2 separate regions of the Homo sapiens genome follow, and region 1 is linked to region 2. Evidence: promoter capture Hi-C in 16 types of primary human blood cells and fetal thymus (Javierre and others, 2016). All regions are on one chromosome and are shown on one strand. Each heading gives the region's core, a stretch centred on a gene start or on the middle of the fragment in contact. The rest is flanking DNA. Distances are from core to core; before and after follow the strand shown. Region 1 overlaps LOC105377700 (a long non-coding RNA gene). Region 2 holds the start of ATP10B (ATPase phospholipid transporting 10B (putative)).

Region 1 (6,247 bases), core at 3,381-5,880, 2.5 Mb before region 2:
TTGTGTTTCTGGAGAACCGTGAGTAACACAGCTTGCATAGTGGCTAAGAATGCAGTCTCTGGAGTCAAGACTGCCTGGTGCAAACCCTGGCTCTACTACTTACTAACTGTGCCTCACTTTCCTCAATTATGAAAGATGGATGATAATGATGCTACCCTCATGTAGTTGTGAAGATTAAACTAATGTTTGCAAAACAAATATGCCTGGTACATGTGTTTAATAAATAGCACTGTTTTTCCAAGGCTAGAGGTTTATTCTTCTTTTAGTGTCTTCGATCTATGGCTTTTGGTCTTTCACTTCTTGGATCACCTTTATTTGTTCACCACTTGAGTGGAGCTCAGGTCAGGAAAGCTTCTTGCTTCTCCAGCACCTTTACTTAGAAAGGAGGTCCTGTAAGCTTCAAACTTGGCCACTTATTGCAATAGAAACATACAAATGTCTGTAATCTTGTTGATGCCCAGCTCAAAGTTTTGAATTATTCTAGTCAGAGTGGGAAAATGTTGGGGAAAGGAAAAAGAAGTGCTATTCACTCCATGTGATTTTTAGAAAAGTATTCTGCATGAATATTCATGGTCCTGGCCAGCATTAGTGACAGCAAAGGTTGGCCTAACATTTGCTCCCTCGAGTATAGTCTTTATTATCTTCAGACAATTTTATATAAAAATATTTATATTGTAGGGCCGGGCACGGTGGCTCATACCTGTAATCCCAGCACTTTGGGAGGCTGAGGTGGGTGGATCACCTGAGGTCAGGAGTTCAAGATCAGCCTGGCCAACATGGCGAAACCCTATCTCTACTAAAAATACAAAAATTAGTAATCCCAGCTACTGGGGAGGCCGAGGCAGGAGAATCACTTGAACCTGGGAGGCAGGGGTTGCAGTGAGCTGAGATAGCGCCACTGCACTCCAGCCTGGGTGACAGAGTGAGACTCTTCTCAAAAAAAATAAAAATAAAAATAAATAAATAAATAAATAAGTAAAATGTAAAAAAATTTACATTATAAAATGGAAAGTTAGAGTTGATGCTTTTTGAGATGTTAGGAGGGGATATATGGAGCCATTGTGTGCTTTGATAATATCTGTGTCTGAGTAATTAAGTATGCTTTAAACACGTCCAGATTCTACTGCATTCTTTCTCAGGAAACTGCAGAATAATTAATTTCTCCATACACACCATTTAAAAAACATACCTCCTGTCACGGACACACTTTTGCAATAAAAAACTGTTTAATGAATAGACTAATTGAGAAGGTTTACATATCACATTCAAAGCTTGGGGAGCACCTGGGAACTAAAAAGTACATTCTGTTAGTAGGGATCTAGGCTACAGTCAGGCTGGCTTTCAAATGGAAACATGCTGGTTTTTTAGACTCGCATGGAGCCTTGTTTCCTGGTTGCATAATAGAATGGTGCAGGCAAGTTAGTAAATTCTGTATTTGCCACACAATAAAGAAATCTCCCTAAAACCTGACACCCTTGCTATGAGAATTGCTCAAAAACTTTTCCTTCAACACTCTTCCCAGATTCTGTTTATCTCAAAAGAGAAGACACAGGCTGATCTGCATTCTGCAATTGACTGCCCCATAGCCTCTGCAGTGTGCAGATTTGAAATTGACTTTCTCCCTGGAGGATGTTTCTTGGACCAGGAGGGTAAGAAAAGTCAGCTAAGCCAAGGCATCTTTAAAGATCTCTCTGAAGCAAGATACAAACTATGCTCTTTAGACAACACATTTTCAATGTTCTAAATCATGACCTTCCCTACTTCAAATGAATACCAATGAAAATCAATTCCTCCTGGAGTGAGAAATAGAGTTTACTGGGGTTTGGAGGTAGGTGGGAAGGGAATTTTGTATGTGATGGGAATTGTAGGCTTTCCAGGGGTTACTGAAAGTTTTGCAAGTTTTGCCTATAGGGAAAAGAGCTAAATTCCTACACATTAAAGAGAGTGGGCAATGGGACATTTACCTCAATTTTGGAATGAAAGAAATTTCAGAATCTTGTCACAAAATGGACATTCAGAGGCTTCTGAACGTAAAAGCACTTTTTACTCAACAGAATCACTGCATTCCAGTCTGATCATGTTTATCTTTACTTTGACAAACATGGTATTGAAAAGAATTAAAGTATCGGATGAGGCAGACCTCCTTTCAAATCCTGACTATGTCACTAAAAGCTCTGCATTCTAACTTCTCTGATCTTCAGTTTCCTTCTCTGTAAAATGGAATAATACCTTGCAGAGTTATTCTGATGATTAAATGTGATTACTATGTGAAGCAATTAATGCAGTACTGGCATTCATTGGGAACCCAAGATATGGTCCTTTTTCTCTCTCTGTATCTCTCACATCCATACACACCCTACACCCCTGATTCCCTCTGTGTATTGCTCTATCCTCTCTTGCGTTTTTCTCTCATCTGCTCATTCTTTAAGGCTCAGCTCCTATTTTTTACTTCTTGTCCCTACCTTCTATAGAGATCTCACCTTTTCACTTTTTCTAGTGCTTGTAGTTTAGTTTATCATCCTCAGAAATGTTTTATTTGGCTGGGTATAGTGGCTCATGCCATTAATCCTAGCACTTTAGGAGGCTGAGGGAGGCAGATCGCTTGAGCCCAGGAGTTTTGAGACCAGCCTGGACAACATGGTGAAACCCAGTCTCTACTAAAAATACAAAAATTAGCCAGGCATGGTGGTGCAGGCCTGTAATCCCAGCTACTTGGGAGACTGAGGCATGAGAATCACTTGAACCTGGGAGGTGGAGGCTGCAGCGAGCTGAGATCAAACCACTGCATTCCAGCCTGGGTGATGGAGTGAGAGTCTGTCTCAAAAAAAAAAAAAAAAAAAAAAAGAAGTATTATTTGATTAATGTGGCAAATATAACATTCACATACTCTATGGCATCCAGAATCTTGAAGGACACATAGCAGGTCTATAATAAATGTTTACTGGTTTATATTGTTATGTACTTCAGATAATAAGCCCCTTAATTTCTTCTTCTTTCTAAGTGAATCTGAGGACATCATTAATAATATTCATAGAATAACCACATGGTTTACCTGTATTTACTCAAAACTTCACAAGCACTCTATAAGGCAGGTATTATTATCCTCATTTTGCTAATGAGCAAACAGGGTAATAAGCAAAACATAATTTGCCCAAATTATATACCAGACATAGATATTGAGGATTTAAATTCAGGTCTTTCTGATTCTAAAGCTTACATTTTGCCATATTATGTGAATTTTTCCATTAAGTTTTTGATACAAATGTAGTTAGGGTTTAAAGTCTTGGCTTTGGAGCAAAACAGATTTTCTCTGTAAGCACTCTTCGTTGTTATAAATGTCTATTCATTGGGACAGCTACAGCCTCTTTTGTTGGTCCTTCTTATATGATTCTTGGTCCCTCCTATACGATTCTTGGTCCCTGTGAGCAGTGCAAGGAGGTGCTTGGATTCCTCCCCCTTGTTGAGAGGGTTTCAAGATAATTCAATCTTCTTACTCTTCTCATCATGGGCATTATTGTACCAGGCAGTACCTTTCTTAAAAGGGCAAGAGAGGCCGGGCGCGGTGGCTCACGTCTGTAATCCCAGCACTTTGGGAGGCTGAGGCGGGCTGATCACGAGGTCAGGAGATCGAGACCATCCTGGCTAACACTGTGAAACCCCGTCTCTACTAAAAAACAGAAAAAATCAGCCGGGCGTGGTGGTGGGCGCCTATAGTCCCAGCTACTCGGGAGGGTGAGGCAGGAGAATGGCGTGAACCCGGGAGGCAGAGCTTGCAGTGAGCCGAGATCGCGCCACAGCACTCCAGCTTGGGCGACAGAGCGAGACTCCGTCTCAAAAAAAAAAAAAAAAAAAAAAAAAAAAAAGGGCAAGAGAGAACCATAGATGGAGAGTAATGTTTTTTAGAGGAAAAAAAAAAAAGGCTCTTCTCAAGAGTTACATATATGGCTTTGGCATCTGCAAAAACAAAACAAAAGAAAAGAAAACACTCATTTACAAATAATTTGCTTCTTAAATACAAATTTTTCCTGCCATAAAACTTTGATAAATAGCTTGAGGAGTGATGTGACCCCATCTGTCTGGCTAATCCAAATTGTGTTTTCCCTCCTTAAAATTAGTGAAAGGAACAGTACAATTGCAAATAAATTATATTTTCCCCACAGATGAGAAGTATTTTCTATACTACAATGCTTTCCAATTATATAGGGTAGCTTCATGTTGAATAACAACAGAAGTTCCCAAATTGAGTGCTTGTGGCCAGCATCCGAAGTTCAATAATTTTGGTAATAGATCTTTTTCCTGCTTAAATGGATATGTAAAATGGATATGTAAATGAATATTAGAGGTTTCAAGAGATATAACACATTTCTTCCAGGCCCTATAATTTCTGCTTTGGATAATAATTAGTGATTTTCCATTACATTTCTAACTTTTACATTATTTATATTTTTAAAAAAATCCTTGGTGCTAGAATTGTGGTTTCTATTTCCTTTTGGAGGATAATAAGTTCATTAGGTTAGCAAATTATTTAAGTGTTTAATGTTATTCTCTTTGCTGTGAATTGCTGTACAATTTTGGGGAGGATGATTTATAATTTCCGGCCTATTTCCCTGCATTTTTGAGAAGGCTGAATAAACATATTTTCTGGAATGAAGAGAGAAAAACAGAAGAGAAACATTTGAGGGAGGCACTATAGGGTGACGTTTCATTCTTTAATGTAGTCCATAATCAAACTGGATTCCCAAAGTTGGATACAAATTGAGTATGGAAATCAATTTTATTTCATGTCTTTCTCAATTTAGTTCCTCACTTTGATTTTTCTTTCAATTGGCTTGAGTGTATCCTCAGGTAAGACTCTGGTTTTATGCATCTGAGCATACTTTATGTTGCCTTTATGCATGAAAGACAAGTGATTAGGATGCCAAATTATTAGCTCACTGAATTTTTCTTTCAGAATACAATTGGTTGTTAAATATTGGGCCAGTCCAGTTTTTATTATTTGTAGGTAACCTGTTTTCTTGCTTCTCCTGGTGCTTTTAAAATGTTTTCTTTATCCCAGTAAACCAAATATTCTTCATGATGTGCTTTGATATGGGCCTCTATTGATTTCTCATGGAATGTGGTGAATGCATTCAAACTGCATTCTCAGGCTTTATTACAATTTTTTTTTAACAAGGAAAATTTTTTTTGGATTATGTCTTTAATTTGTCGTGTTTTAGCATCAGAAATTTTCCCTTGTGTTCTTTTATAGGTACTAAGTTTACCTAAAAAAGACGGTAAACTAATTCTTTGTGACCCAAGGATATTCTATTGTCCATATCATGAGACAATGTGATGCGTGAAAATAGTACTTTTTTTTTTTTTTTTTGAGATGGAGTCTCGCTCTTTCGCCCAGGCCGGACTGCAGTGGTGCTATCTCGGCTCACTGCAAGCTCCACCTCCTGGGTTCATGCCATTCTCCTGCCTCAGCCTCCTGAGTAGCTGGGATAACAAGCGCCCGCCACCACGCCTGGCTAATTTTTTGTATTTTTAGTAGAGACGGGGTTTCACCATGTTAGCCAAGATGGTCTCGATCTCCTGACCTCATGATCTGCCCGCCTCGGCCTCCCAAAGTGCTGGGATTACAGGAGTGAGCCACCTCGCTCGGCCGAAAATAGTACTTTTAAACCAAGTCTATATGGATTATAAAAACAACTTTACTTCAGCGGTAAGAAGAGGCTGTTTTTGTTTTTGGCTCCTAGTTTTTGTTGTCTACATGGCGAACAGTACCTGAGTGCTTTGCTCACAATTTTGTAATCCCAGATAGGTCTCTTACTTCAAAACATCCAAGTGGTATAACCTTAATGCAAGAAGGAAATCTAGGTTGCTAGGGCCAAAAACATTATGGGTGTGTGGGTGAAAGAATTGGTTAGCAATATTTAAAATCAACAGAAAGAGTAAAAGGAAATCTAGATTTTAAACTATTCTGATTTCATAGTGTCCATATCTTTCACTGTAAATAAGCTGGAAAGAATTATAAACATTACTTAACTGCATAGTATCACAAGCTTATATAACTGTAGAAATATACATTGATACTTGTGTTTGTCCCAATTGCTCTGTTTTGTTGCTTGGGAATATTTCTAATTCCTAGCTTGGCTCACTGTTTTCTTTTCTCTATATCTAGCATTTTCTCTCTCATCAAACTCATCTTCTTGTTTTTTTTACTTAATCAGCAACAGTTAATCACAATGTGAGGCACTATCTCATT
Region 2 (6,330 bases), core at 2,644-5,143:
GGTACAGACAAGATTATTATACAATTTATATGAAAAAGCATGAAACCAAGAATAGTTAAAACAATTTTGAAAAAAAATAAAGTGGAAGGAATCTATCTACCTGATTTTAAGATTTATATGATTATAGTCATCAAGACTGGTACTGGCAGGGGTATAAACAATGGAGAAGAATCCAGAATCCAGAAATAGATCCACACAAATATGCAACTAATTTTTTTTTTTACAAAGTTACAAGAACAATTCAATGGAGGAAGGACAGTCATAAAACAAGTGGTTCTAGTACAATTGAAAATCCAAATAAACACACAAGGAAACCTTGATCTTAACATTACAGTTTACACAAAATTTAACTCAAAATGGATCATAGACTTAAATGTAATTCATAAAATTATAAAATTTTTAGAGAAATAGGATAAATATTTAAGATTTAGAAGTATGCAAAGAGTGAAAAGGAAAATTGATTCAATATTGCTTTAAAAATTGATGTAAATAAACCTTTTGATCTGTGTAATACCCTGTGAAGGGGATAAAAAGATAAGTTATGGATTGAAAGAAAACATTTCCCAACCACATATCCGACAAAGGTATAGTATATAAAGAACACTCAAAACTAAAAAAAAAACAAACAAAAATTAATTAAAACATAAGCAAAAGACATTAAGAAATATTTCACCAAACAAAATATATAACTGAGAAATAAGCACATAAAAAGATACTCAACATCATTATCCATTAGGAAAATGCAAATTAAAACCAAAATGAGATATTGCTATACACCTATTGAAATAACTAAAGAGTAGTGACAACACCAAATGCTGGTGAGGATGCGGAGAAACTAGGGCCCTCACACATTTCTGGTAAGAAAGTAAAATGGTATAGTCACTCTGGAAGAATATCGCAGTTTCTTAAAATACTAAACGTGCAAATACATCTAGGATTAAAATACTAAACAAGCATTTATTAAAATACTAAACATACCATACAATCCAGGAATTAAACTTCTGTCTGTGCATTTATTCTAGAAAAATACTTCTATTCACACAAAACCTGTGCACAAATGTTTATAGCAACTTTATAACAGAGCTGGAAATAACTCAGATGTCCTTCAAAGGTGAATGGTTAAACAATCTGTAGTTTGAGTCCCAGATACTTCCTAGTTATGTGAAAGCACAGTTATTTTATTCCTTTTCCTACATTTTCTCTCTCGTAGAATAAGAATAATTGCGTCAATCTATTAAAGTTTTTGAGGGAATTAAATGAGTCAAAGTATGTAGAGCACTTAACATGGTGCTGGCACAAAGTACTCAGTAAAAATTAGCACCAATAGGGAGTGTAAATTAGTTCAACCATTGTAGAAGACAGTGCGGAGATTCTTCAAGGATCTAGAACCATAAATACAATTTGACCCAGCAATCCCATTACTGGGTATATACCCTATAAGTCATTCTACTATAAAGACACATGCACAGGTATGTTTATTACAGCACTGTTCACAATAGCAAAGACTTGGAACCAACCTAAATGCCCATCAATGATAGACTGGATAAAGAAAATGTAGCACATACACACCATGGAATACTATGCAGCCATAAAAAAGGATGAGTTCATGTCCTTTGCAGGGACATGGATGAAGCTGGAAGCCATCATTTTTAGCAAACTAACACAGGAACAGAAAACCAAACACCACATGTTCTCATAAGTGGGAGTTGAACAATGAGAACACATGGACACAGGGAAGAAACATCACACACTGGGGCCTGTCAGGGGTTGGGGGGCTAGGGGAAGGGATAGCATTAGGAGAAATGCCAAATGTAGGTGACGGGTTGATGGGTGCAGCAAACCACCATGGCACGTGTATACCTATGTAACCTGCATGTTCTGCATGTGTATCCCAGAACTTTAAAGTATAATAAAAAATAAAAATTACCACTAATAACACTTGCACAGCTTGTAGAAGATAGTCTTAAGATTATGAAATCCATCCTGGTTGTGTGGTACTGGTGTCGGGGATGGGAGCAAAAGCCTCTGTCTACCATTGCTTCTTTAATTGACTAGTTTGGGCAGCAAGAATACAAAAGCTAGACATGACACACTGTGTAAAAATCAGGAATGAAAAGCATGATGTGGTCAATAAGAAATGCAAATACATACAAAAATGCTAAATTGCCTTAGTGTAGAAAGATTGCCTGCTGGAAATAGGAACTATAAGTAAAACTCTGTGAGTGTGATTTTTAAAATATGATTTATTACAAAATTCCAGCAGCCAAACAAAAGAAAGATAGTCCCTCTAATAAAAACTGAACATAGCATTTCTTATCTATTATTTGTTTATTAGGGTTCTAATTAGCCAGACAGTGTCACTTAATTTCAACACATTTTATAAATAATTTGCCATATGTCTGTTAGTATTTACGATTTCCAGGCAGTTTGGAAAATGAACATATTTGAGGACTCTCTATTCATTGGTTAGCATGAAAACCCAAGGGATGCTACAGACACATTTGTTCCTAAATTGCATGTGCCTCTCTCTTTACCAGGAAAGTGATAATGGGAAAGAGCTGGTCTTAGGAGAAAGACCAGTGATGGAAAATATACTAGTCTTAGGAGAAAGACAATGTGGTTTGAGGTCCCATGTTCACCACCAAATTCCTGTTTGGCTTTGAGCAATTGTATTCACTTCTCTGAGCTTCAGCATTCTCCTCCATGGCACAAGGGGGCTTCACTAAATAACCTCCAGTTACCCACTAGTGCAATATTCTGCAATTTAACCGTATCTGTGATTCTAGACCACACTCGTCCCTAGAAGCCAGAGCACTCTGAGTGAAGGGAAGTAAAGGAACAGGGACTTAAGCATTCTTCTCTTTAGCAGATGGAGAATTTTGAAATGCCAACTCGCTCTTTTAAAAATTCTAGACTGTCTAAAGCATAGGCAAATTTCATGTTCTTAAAAATTCCTAGCTTGTGTCTTACACACACAGCGATGCAGATTTTAGATGGTGTGGGTGTTTCTTCTCTTGTAAAATGTTTCCTATGTCCATGTTTCTTCTTGGTATTCTGATAAGATCTGTAGGTACATACAAAGTTCACAATTACTCTACCAACCAACCAAAATCTTATGTAAAGATTTTCATGAAGTTAGTATGTTCACTTCTTTCCAACACCTTTTATTCCTAAGTTTGGTAATATTTCTTTTTTTTACTACCCTTAAAATCAACTTACTGCTCATTCTACCTTCTCTTTTATTTATGGACCCATCAATAATTATCCATCAATACAGCAACTTGCTCATGACATTTATGCCAATTAGTTGAGTTGTAGGTAACTTAATAAAAGGATTATACATGAAAATCTCATTTTAGGGTATGAATCGAAGCTATCAATAAGCCCATTACTAATTCTGATTTTCTGTAAGTTTGCACCATTCACATAATCTGCCACTATAATATATTGGTCCCACTTTCCTTATTTTGTATAATCAAACAGTAATCAATAAAAACTATGACTACTGCAAAATGAGACTTCTGAAGCTTTGAGGGCAAATTCATCATCAGCATGCATATAAAAGTCACTGTAGAGAGTCTTTTCTTTCTTAAGTGCCCTTGAAACCCAGCAGCTGAATCATATTTCAGGCCCCCCAAAGAGAACTGCAAGGTTATAATTGTCTCACACTTAATTACATGCATTACCAAAGGTAGATGGACAAAGTCATTTTGTACCATGCGTAGAGAATAAAAATCACCATGAATTTTGATATTGCTGGCTCATTGATTCACAGGAAGTAGAAATTTATGCAAGAACCATGTCTAACAATGTAAATGTTCAGCCAAGTCGAAGAACACTGCCTTCACTGTTCTGGGACTCGGCCTCACATTCACAGACTTGCTATTCTTCTCTTTCACTCTTGGGCCTAGCGAGGCAGCTTATTTTTCCTTTTTCTTTCATTGGTCACAGTTATTTCTTTTCAGTGTGTCATCTTCTCTAAGTTTCTGAGGGAGTGTTAGCTTGAGGCCTTGCCTTGACATAATCAGATATAATCAGAAAAATGAAAAATTCCATAGGAAAGAGAACTATTTTAGCCAAGGTGTGCGAGAGAAATACCGCCACTTTCAAGCACTGTTTTCTTCTACTGGAGTCTGCTCAATAGGGACGTCAGCTTTGCTGGGGTAAGTAAAAGCATCCTGGCCTTAACCTATATAATGGGGGAGTAATTGCCTCTTAGAATCATCAAGTCTAAGTTCTGAATTAGGCCCAGGATATGACTACTTTTCTTTACACTGCATTTGAAATTTCATTTGGCTTTCTGGGTGCGAGATCCACATTTCTTTTCTAACAGAATGTTTTATTTTTCGTCAATTGATTTCATTATGATAAGCTGATGGCAAATGCTACTTCCTCACTCAACAGGGCTTGCAGTCTGAATGTGCCTGAATACATTTTATGATAAATAATATATCCTGCTATCCTGCATTCATCCAGTGCAGCCTGAGGAAGCAGATGGAGTTACAGCCTTCTTCTCAAAGCAGAAAGAAACTATAGCTTTGAGGAAGAGAATGAGATCATTACATGGCTTCCCAATTTCATCTTGATAAACTCTGAAGCTGCCATATTGCAGTAGTTTTCAACTATAGGTGGGAAGCTTGACTTTCCTTTGAGTTCAAAGGAGAAAACTGTTGCTTAAAGAAAAATGTGTTTTTTCCCTAAGTATGAGTTACTCCTTCCAGAAAAAAAATAAAAAAGCCCCATGCATGCAGGTCTGTGATGAATACATTTAGGACAGTCCTGTGGCCTGCTATTAAGGCTGGAGTGACACTATCCCTAACCCTAAGGTGAAAAGTAATGTTAAAAATAAAAATTATACTGAGCTGCTAGTTATTTTGCCTACAGGAGTGCATGCCTGTGTCTGGTGGAACTTGGTTTTTCTCTGAATTTGCCAGGCAATTTTCTCTGAATTTGCCAGGTAGGCAGAGGAGAATTTGAAAACTGTAGAGAGGAGCTTGACCTCCCAAAGCCAATCTGGCACTCTGCTACTTCCTTCTTCCACAGTTTCTTCTCTGTTTCCAGATCTTGCAAATGTACAGTCAAGACTGCTTGGAGTATTATTCCATTAACAGACATACAGTTACATTAAGCCATTAATCAGGCAGATCACAGATGTTGTTTTCTGTCTAGATGTTACTATAATTACTCTTAATAACACCCACTGAGTTTGTCATTTCATCCATTGATGACTTTTTAAAAAATTCTTGGAAAATTCATTTCTTACAGCCTAATTATATGGATTTAAGGGTTCAGGATCTCTCCTCAGGTTTTCATCATGTATTTTTTAAAGAGTATAGCAGTATAACATCACATATGGGTGGATTAATAGGCTCTTGAGAAACTGAAGGTTGAAACCCACATGCTGACTTTTTACAGTTAAATCATACTCCTCTCGTGCTAAACGATGAGCCTTATCTTTTGAAGCATGTGATACTGATAAGTCCAGTGAAGGAGGCTGCCTTTCAAAGGAACGGAGCTCTGAGGAATGGAATGGAACTTAGTCTAGCTGCCTAGTTTACAGATGATAAAACTAGGACCTAGAGAAATGAAGTCTGAATTACTGAGAGAAAAGGACACCAGAGTCCAAGGCTCAGAGCTCTCAATCCAGTGTTGCTTCTTCTTGTTTATTTTGTTTTGTTTTGAGATGGAGTCTTGCTCTGTCACCCAGGCTGGCGTGCAGTGGCGCAATCTCAGCTCAATGCAACCTCTGCCTCCTGGATTCAAGCAATTCTCCCATCTCAGCCTCCCAAGTAGCTAGGATTACAGGCATGCACCACCATGCCTGGCTAATTTTTGTTTTGTTTTTTGTTTTTTGTTTTTTAGTAGAGACGGAGTTTCACCATGTTGGCCAGGCTGGTCTCGAACTCCTGACCTCAGGTGATCCGCCCACAGCCTCCCAAAGTGCTGGGATTACAAGCGTAAGCACCGCACCTGGCCCAGTGTTGCTTCTACTACCACTTTCATTCTTCAAACAGCTTCTGCCATGTCAGAAGGGAATGAAAATTTCTTTTGTGACTCAAAAGTAAACTAAAACTCGTTGGATTCCTGAGACTGATTCTACCCATTTACCCACTCTCCTTAAAGTAAAACTTAGCCAGGCATTCTTAAATTTTGCTTTGAACCTAGGGAGTTCTAGCTTTTCTGCTGATTAAATGTCACTGATTTCTCATTTTCTGGTGACATTGTTTTACAATTCTTTTAACTACAAAGTTTAAGTTTCTGGAGCCTTTTCTTCTTTTCATTTTTTATAAAATACCCTTTTATTAAGAGATGAAGTTGGGTAGTCAGAAT

What was found. Contacts are between HindIII fragments. The CHiCAGO score rates a contact against its expected background, and 5 or more counts as called.
Region 1: a contact is called between a fragment that was not itself captured here and the fragment with the promoter of ATP10B in region 2, in 1 of 17 cell types (naive CD8 T cells). The highest score is 5.4, in naive CD8 T cells.

What each region holds. Positions count from the first base shown.
Region 1 is chr5:163,320,018-163,326,264 of GRCh38, reverse strand. All of the region lies in intron 1 of LOC105377700 (a long non-coding RNA gene), which reads left to right. Among named protein-coding and RNA genes, the nearest start is that of CCNG1, 110 kb to the left of the region's middle. The HindIII fragment of the contact is 2,832 bases long and covers 3,215-6,046 here.
Region 2 is chr5:160,849,774-160,856,103 of GRCh38, reverse strand. ATP10B (ATPase phospholipid transporting 10B (putative)) reads left to right here and starts at 3,893. Exons shown (of 26, transcript NM_025153.3): 1 at 3,893-4,163. The HindIII fragment of the contact is 1,109 bases long and covers 3,530-4,638 here.